2 separate regions of the Homo sapiens genome follow, and region 2 is linked to region 1. The links are contacts of gene promoters, found by promoter capture Hi-C in human tissues and cell types (Jung and others, 2019). All regions are on one chromosome and are shown on one strand. Each heading gives the region's core, a stretch centred on a gene start or on the middle of the fragment in contact. The rest is flanking DNA. Distances are from core to core; before and after follow the strand shown. Region 1 holds the start of SDR16C5 (short chain dehydrogenase/reductase family 16C member 5). Region 2 overlaps PENK-AS1 (PENK antisense RNA 1).

The links. Contacts are between HindIII fragments. The study calls those that stand out against the background at their distance.
Region 2: a fragment that was not itself captured here is called in contact with the fragment with the promoter of SDR16C5 in region 1 in 1 of the 25 tissues and cell types used here (small bowel).

Annotation. Positions count from the first base shown.
Region 1 is chr8:56,317,890-56,322,377 of GRCh38, forward strand. It overlaps SDR16C5 (short chain dehydrogenase/reductase family 16C member 5), which reads right to left and starts at 2,286. Exons shown (of 7, transcript NM_138969.4): 1 at 2,170-2,286. The HindIII fragment of the contact is 11,880 bases long and covers 1-4,488 here.
Region 2 is chr8:56,456,344-56,460,831 of GRCh38, forward strand. All of the region lies in intron 1 of PENK-AS1 (PENK antisense RNA 1), which reads left to right. Among named protein-coding and RNA genes, the nearest start is that of PENK, 12 kb to the left of the region's middle. The HindIII fragment of the contact is 3,745 bases long and covers 1-3,690 here.

The DNA.
Region 1 (4,488 bases), core at 1,036-3,535:
GGATGGGCAGCCTCTCATAATCTCTGTGCAGGTGAGCCAAGTAATCTAGTTGAAGAGACGTATTCAACAAATAAACAGATCGTTATAAGCCATAGTGTTATAAAGAAAAGTGCAGTGTGCTATGGAGAGGATGATCGGAGAGCTGATTCAGATTGGGCTTGGGAGAGGAAGCAACAGATGTCTGCTGGAAAGTGACCCTTTGAGTGGATATCCAAATGATGATGGTGGGAGGTAGGGATATTGAGCAGTAGCTTTCCTGGCAGAGGGACAAAATAGTTTGTTTTAAGGCAGGTTTGACCTGTGTGTCCAGGGCTGTCCAGAGAATAAGAATGTTTGCTCTAAGGAACATGGATGCTCTGGTCAAATGAAGAACGTTTTCATCCATGCTTTGATGAAATAGACCTCAAACTCTCTGTGATCTTTGCTCTGATTTACATTCACAGAGTAACTTTTGAATGATTGATCAGGCCTCTCAGGCACTGCAGAACTTGAAAAGGTGTCCTGAAAGAGGACTCTCATATCAAATACATGGAGCCTGTACCTGTGGATCTGCAAGGATGAGGGTCAGACTGTGCACACAGTAATGGGAAACCCTAGGCGCCCTTCTCAGACAGCAGCCTGGGCGTCGCCAACTTTGGAAAATCCACACCAGGAGTAGTTGGTCAGACCACCACATTCCCTTTTATATCACTATGTGAATTCACATAGAGGGACAGAGGTCTACTTCTCCCATCACAGGGCTCCAGCACCTCAGCAGTGGCCAGAAGTCTCAACATTGACCTGGGTGACATGAACGCTCTTAATGTCAGGACATTCTAGATTTCAGTGTTCCACTGTCTCAATGTTGGCTTGATGCAAGACCTAAAATATGTCCATCTTTTAACCCTGTCTTGGCAGATGCTTACTAGATTTCTAAGAGCTTGTCAGCCTGAGTTACCTCCCTTCCCCAGTTGAAGTTTAGGGTGCCTGCTGGGTACCCACACAGGCAATGAGGTCTAGAGATTAAAGTTTGGGTTGGAATTCCAGATATATCACTGATTTTCCCTGCAACTTTGGTAGAAATGATTTAATCTCTTGTGCCTCAGTTTCCTCCTCTAAAAAGGGAGTTTCTAATAGTGCATAGGAATACTTACCACACAGAGGAGCTGTGAGAATTAAACCAGTTTATATAGGTAAAGTTTTAAGGAGCATTATGTGGTCACTACTAGCTTGTGTGAAACCTTCGAACAAATTAGAAAAAAAAAAAAAAAAAGGCATTGCCCTGCACAAAGTCCTCTGCGGGGTGCAAGGGGTTGGGGAGGGGGTGCAAGAGGAGCTGTTTGGATTTCAACACCTGCCAGCTTACATGTCTCCCCCTCTGCTCCTCAATCCCCATAATAATGTGGCACAGCCATAAAACATGGAGGCCTTTCTAGAACAGTGCCAGGCACAGAATGACAGCAAAATAATTAATGGCTAGAACTTCCACTGGTCCTGTTAAGCATATGAATTAATAATCCCTGGCTATATCAATTAAATATGGTTATAGTATACTTACAAACAAGAGTGAATGTACGGTTCCATTTTACTGCAAAGACTTTCCTAGAATGTTACGGAGCGTATACAATTTAATCTGGCAGAAGTCTTCTAGGTGTCCCTATCTCGCGGCCTACCCAATCCAAACAGGCGCCCTCGGCTTCCCATACCAGTGCGCGGCAGCAAGTCGGCTCTGGTGAGGGCACCCGGACGAAACGGGAGGGCAGACAGACTGACAATCACAGCTTGGGTTGAAAGGGGTGATATGGGGGTTGATATCCACCCGGAAGGTGGATGCACTGAGCAGCAGAGAGCAGGGAACCTGGGCAGAACGGACCGAAGAAGAGGGTCCGGGGAGGCATCCTGCCCTCTGCTCCGGGTGGGGAGGGAGGCTGGCAGCTCACCCCCGGGGGCGAGGGGTCTGCGTTAGCCGTAGCCACGGGAGCCCGGGCTTCTGGGACGCTCAGCCGTGCGCTACCCGGTGCAGCTGCTTTCTCACCAGCTCGCGGGTGGGTCCTGCCGCGGCTCGGCGACCCGCGCCCCCTTGCGAGCGACCCAGCGTGAAACCAGCCCAAAGGGCGGCCTCGCCCGACCCCCGCCAGCGCGACCTCCTCCGGGAGCCAGCACCCAGGACCGACGACCTCGGCAACTTACCCAGGACACTCTCCCTAGCTGTCCGCGGAGAAGCCGGCCTCGTCTGCCCCAGGCACCCGAGTCCCTGGCTCGGAGCTCAGTCAGGTTCAGGTGTTTATCCAGGCGCCGCCCAAGTCCAAGGGCGGGACTGCCGCGGCAGCGCCAGGGGTGGGGCCGGCCGTAGCCCCAGTGCGCGACGTGGGCAGCACTCCCATCTTCTTTTTCTGGACCTGCAGATTTAAGAAGCTGGAAATTCGGTGGTGGAAACTGGATGCGTGCGCCGGATTTCTCTTAGGCTTAACGTTTCAATGCCTAGGCTGTACCCTAGATTATTAGATGGGAATTTCTGGGTTGGTAGGGGCCTAGGCATTAGCTAGAAAAGTTTCCCAGGTATTTGCAAGGCACAACCCCGAGGTTGGGAACCCTGGAATTAGAGAACAGAGCAGTATAGGCGTCCACGGGGGAGGGGCCAGGTCGTGTGTCTGGAGCCTGCAGTGCGGGGAGTTCTCCAGCAGCATCTGACTGCTCCACATGGGATCTTAAGTCAACAGCTTCCTTGCCCCTTGGAGGTAAAGGATGTGGGCGTGGGCTCGGAAGTCCCCGGGAAGTGGGTGGGGTGCAGGCAGGGGCAGGAGTGGGTGCGGCGCTGGCAGGCGGCCTAGGAGAAGAGGGCGAGGAAATTTGTTCTAACAAGATGAAGCCGAGAAATGAGGCTAGCGTAAGAGTCACCAGGCACTCTGACCCAATCAAGATATATTAAGCATCTGGGTGTACAGCGATCCAGAAGATAACAGCGATGATATATCTGTCAAGAAAAAAAAAAAGGAAAAACATTCATTAATAAATCAATAAAAGAGTTAATATAAGCACAAGACACCACTGAGATGCTAATAATAGAGGGTGAACTTTTCTGGGGGCAATGAGGGGCAGAAATGACAATAAATTATGGGATGTTGAAAGAAAAACAGGGGAGTCATGATGAGATTGGGTTTGAAATTTATCCCGGGGCTGAGTAGGACAGGAAAAGTGGTGAGGGGTCGAAGAGCAGCCTTAGCCAGCCCATATCTGGGACAGGTCTGGAGTAGAGGAACTGCACATTTGTTCTTTATTTGGGTGACAGAAGAAACAGGCAGGTCGTATAAGCTTGGAAAAGTAGGTGCAGGGGAAACCCTCGACTGTCTTTTCAGTACTTAAGAGGTTACTTGTGTGCTTTAGGCAGCAGCAGCGAGCTGTGGCAAGCTATGCGAGGCGTGTGGGAAGGTGAGTGGGTAAATGTGCGTGCATTGGTTTCAAGTCAGCCGTCACCACACAGCGACACTGCTGTGTGGGGCTCTGGGGAGTTGCAGGGCTTCTGAGGGAGAAGGGAGACACATTCATAAACAGTGCGGGTGATAGACATGCACCCCAGGTGCTTCCAGAGTCCACAACCAGCCTGCAGGAGGAGAGGCAGTTGGACTCAAAGGGCCTTCCAGAATGGGCTAAGGTGTGGAGGTGAGCAGCACCTGGGAGTGAGAGTGGACTGAGGCAGAGAGACGTCGGGTAATGGGCCCTTGATGGTGCAGCCTGCCTGCAAGAGTTCAGATGAGTGGACACTGGGAAACACCAGCCTCCTATTATCTTCATGGCTTCTCTGAGCAGAATCCTAGGCTGTCACTCTTCTTTCTGGTCAGAAGCCCTGGGTGGACCTCAAGAAAGAAATTTGGAGCATTATTAGAAATCTCATCAGTACAAAAGATGAGAGTGAGTAGTGGGGGATGCACCGGTGACGCAGTGAAAGAAGCCAGAGGCCCTGCTGGTTGGAAAGGGTCCTGCTTTGACTTGATGTGGGGGAAACTCAGAGGACTGACCATAATCCTGAAAGCTGGGAAAGGATTTCTAAAGGGTCTCTTTTGGCAAAGGCTAGGAATGGACAGTTTATGATAGAACATGTGTCATGGGCTAATAAACATGAAAAAGTGGTTTAATCTTATTCTCAATTTCTTTGATCTTAGGGCCAAAGAGATGCATATGAAAACATTTCTTACCTTACAAATTGAAAGTTTTTTTTTTTTTTTAAAAGAATGCCTTCATATGGGGGTATAAATTATACATTTCTGGAAAACAAATATGTTTCAGGAATTAGAAAGGGATATATCCTCTGACCCAATTCCACCTTTATCTTTACCAAATACCCAGGTATTGTCTGTGGCCTTTCAGGAAGGGAAACTGGGTCACTGAGAGTCAGGGATGGGAAAGAGACTTTCCACTCCACTGAATCATGTGAAGTAGTACCTTTTTAGGAAACAAGTATATTAATCAAAATAAATTGATCTTTAATTCCTAAGAAGTATGTGCCGATGG
Region 2 (4,488 bases), core at 568-3,067, 140 kb after region 1:
GTCAGCACTTACTGAAGGAGAAGAACAAACTTGGAGGACTGACACCACTTGACTTCAAGTCTTACTACAAAGCTGACTTATAAAAATAGTGATCAAAACAGTATGCTATTGGCAAAAGAATAGACAAATAGGTTAATGGAACAGAATAGACAGCCCAGAAATTTACCCACATAAATATAGCCCACTGATTTTTGACAAAGAAGCAGAAGCACTACAACAGAGAAAGTCTTTTCAACAAATGGTGCTTGAACAATGGGACATTCATATGCAAATAAATGAAACTAGACACAGATCTTACACCTTTAAAAAAATTAACTGAAAATGGATCACAGGCAGACTTGTATATAAAATGTACAACTAGGACACACCAAAAACCCTGTTAGAACTAATGAACAAATTCAGTGAAATTACAAGATACAAAATCAACAAGTAAAATCAGCTGTGTTTCTGTAAACTAATGATGGCTATCTGAAAAAGAAATCAAGCAAACAATAGAGTTAAAAATTACTTAGGAATAAATTTAACCAAGGGGGTAAGAGATCTGTACATTGAAAACTATGAATCATTGATGAAATAAATTAAGGAAGACATAAAGAAAGATATCTCATGTTTATGAATTGGAATAATTAATATTGTTAACATATTCCTACTACCAAAGGGATCTAAAGATTCAGTGCAATCCCTATAAAAATTTCAATGGCATCTGTTTCCACAGAAATAGAAGAAATAATCCTAAAATCTGTATGGAACCACAAAACATCCAAACAGCTAAAGTAATCTTGAGGAAAAAGAAGAAAGCTGAAGAGATTACCTGATAACAAATATACTGCAAACCTATCGTAATCAAAACAGAATGAGATCAGCGTACAAATAAACATATAGGCCAATGGTAAAGCAGAAGAGTATAGAGAACCCAGAAATAAATCCATGGATTTATGATCAATTGATCTCTGACAAAAATGCTAAAAACACACAATGGGGAAGATGCTGTCTTTAATCAATGGTGTTGGGAAAACTGGATATCCACAAGCAAATGGATGAAATTGGACCCCATCTCACACTGTGTAGAATGCTTCAATGATCATGGGAGTGCTAATATCTCTTTGAGATCCTGATTTCAATTATTTGGATAAATACACAGATGTAGGATTGCTGGATCATATGGCAGTTCTATTTTTAATTTCTTGAGTAACCTTCATACCCATCTTCATAGTGGCTGCACCATTTTACCTTTCCACCAGCAGTCACAAGCGTTCTAATTTTTCCATGTCCTTGCTAAAACTTCTTAATTTCTGTTTTTTTTTTTAACATAATGGCTATTTTAGCAGATGTGAGATAATATTTCATTGTCGTTTTGATTGGCATTTCTCTGATGATTAATGATCATGAAAAGATATGAGAATCTTTTCATATACTTGTTGACCATTTATATATATTCTCTGGAGAAATGTCTATTCTAAACTTTTGACCATTTTAAAATAAGTTGTTTTAATCTATTGTTTGGATATATTTTGGATATTAACCTATTATGAAATATATGACTTACAAATATTTTCTCCCATTTCATAGGTTACCTTGTCACTCTGTTGACTGTTTCCTTGGCTATGCAGAAGCTTTTTAGATTGATGTGGTTCCACTTGTTTATTTTTGCATTTCTTGCCTATTTTTTGGTGTCTTATCCAAGAAATTGTCACCAGAGTAATGAAGCATTTCCACAATGCTTTCCTTCTAGTAGTTTTGTGGTTTCGGATCTTATGTATAAATCTTTACCCCATTTTGAGTTGATTTTTGTGTAAGATAATGATCCAATTTTCTTCTTTTTAATGTGTATATCCAGTTTTCCCAACACCATCTGTTGGAGAGACTATTTGTTCCCCATTGTGTTTTCTCTGCACCTTTGTTAAAAATCAACTCACCATAAATGCATGGATTTCTTTGCTGTCTATTCTATTCCATTGACTAATGTATCTGTATTTATGTCAGTATTATACTGTGTTCTTTTTTTGCCATTGTAGCTTTGTAATATATTTTGAAATCAGGAAATGTGGGACCTCAAGCTTTGTTCTTTTTTTCTTAAGATAGTTTTGGCTGTTCAGGGTCCTTTGTGGTTCCATCTGAATTTTAGAATCATTTTTTTCTAATTTTTGTAAAAAGTGCCATTGTGATTTTGATAGAGATTGCATCAGGTCTGTAGATCACTTTGAGTAGTACAGACATTGTAACAATATTAAATCTTCCAATCCATTAACATAGAATGTCTTTCTATTTCTTTCTTTCTTCTTTAATTCCTTTCAGCAATGTTTTGTAGTTTTCAGTGTGTAAGTTTTTTATTTCCTTGGTTAAGCTTATGCTTAAGCTTATTCTTTAATGATGCCATTGTAAATTGGATTATTTTATTAATTTCCTTTTCAGATGATTTATTAGTGTATAAAAACACACCTGATGTTTGTATGTTACTTCTTATCCTTCAGTGTCACTAAATTTATTTATTAGTTCTAATAGTTTATTGGTGGAGCTTTTACAGTTTCCTCTATATAAGATCATGTGATCCACAAACTGCAATAATTTTACTTCTTTCTTTGAGATTTGAATGCCATTTATTTCTTTTTCTTACCAAATTGTTCTGGCTAGGACTTCCATTACTATGGTAAATGGAGTGGCAAGAGCAGGCATCCTTTTCTTCTTCTTGATGTCACAGGAAAAGTTTTAGTTTTTCACCATCGAGTATAATGTTAGCTGTGGACTTTTCATATATAGCCTTTATTATGTTGATATAATTTCCTTCTCTTCGTTGTGTATTGATTTTTTTAATGAAAGTGTGTTGAATTTTGTCAAATGCTTGTTCTGCATCTATTGAGATCATTATTTGTGATTTTTATTCTTTGTTCTGTTAATGTGGTGTATCACATTGATTGATTTTCATATGATAAACCATCTTTATATCCCAGGGGTAACTCCCACTTGAGTCATGGTTAAGATCCTTTTAATGGTCTGTTTGCTCATATATTGTTAAGAATATTTACATGTGTATTTATTAGGGATATTGACCTGTAGCTTTCTTTTCTCATAGTGTCTTTCTCTGGCCTTTGTATCAGGGTAATGCTGGCCTCATATAATGAGTTTGGAAGTGTTCCTCACTTTAAACATGTTTTATGAGTGTTTGAGAAAGATTCGCATTAATTCTTCTTTAAAGGTTTGGTAGAATTCACCAGTGAAATTATGTGGTCTTGGGCTTTTCTTTTTTGGGGGACTTTTGACTACTGATTCAATGTCTTTGTTAATTATGTCTGTTTAGATTTTCTATTTTTTCATGATTCAGTCTTGGTAGGTTGAATGTTTCTAGGAATTTCTTCTAGGTTATCCAATTTGTTGGTGCATCATTGTTGATAGTAGTCTCTTATGATCCTTTGTATTCGTCAGTTGTAATGGCTTCTCTTTTTTTTCCGGTTTTCTTTGAATCTTTTCTCTTTTTTTCTTAGTCTAGCCAAATGTTTGTCAATTTTGTTGATATTCTCAAAAAACAAATCCTTAGTTTTAATGATTTTTTTCTATTCTCTATTTAATTTATTTCTGCTGTAATCTACATTATTTCCTTCCTTCTGCTAAATTTGCACATGGTTGCTTTTTTTCTAATTTCTTTAGGTGTAGAGTTAGGTCTTCTATTTAAGATATTTTTTCTTTTTAAGTGTAGGAGTTTAACACTATAAACTTTCCTCTTAGTACTGCCTTTGCTACATCCCATAAGATTTGGTATGATATACCATATTTTGTTTTTGTTTGTCTCAAGATATTTTTTAATTTTCTTTTTAATTTTTTTCTTTGTCCTATTGGTTATTCAAAAGTGTGTTGTTTCATTTCTACATTTTTGAATTTTCAAGTTTTCCTTCTGCTGTTGATTTCTATTTTTATTCCATTGTGATCAGGAAAGATATTTGTTATAATTTTCAATTTTCTTAAATTCATTCAGACATGTTTTGTGATCTAAAATGTGATCTATTGTGGATAATATTCAGTACATTCTTGAGAGGAATGTGTATTCTGCTGCTGTTGCGTGGAATGTTCTCTATATGCCTGTTAGGTCCATTTGGTGTATAGTGTTGTTCACATTCTGTTTTCTTATCAATTTTCTTTTTAGATGTTCTATCCATTATTGAAAGTGAGCTATTGAAATTTCCTACTATTATTGTGTTGCTATCTACTTATATTTCTTCTTTCTATTTCTTTCTTGAGTTTGATGAATGTTTCTCTTGTATCTTTAGATGCTCTAATATTTGCATATATGTATGTGTATATATCCACATGTGTATATACACATATATATGTATAATTATTATGTCTTCCTGGTGAATTGATTCTTTTATCATTATATAATGTCCTTCTTTTTCGCTAGTGACAATTTTTGACTTAAAGTCAATTTGTCTGACGTAAGTATGGCCATTCTTTCCCTCTTTTGGTAGTTGTCATTTGCATATCTTTTTCCATTCTTTC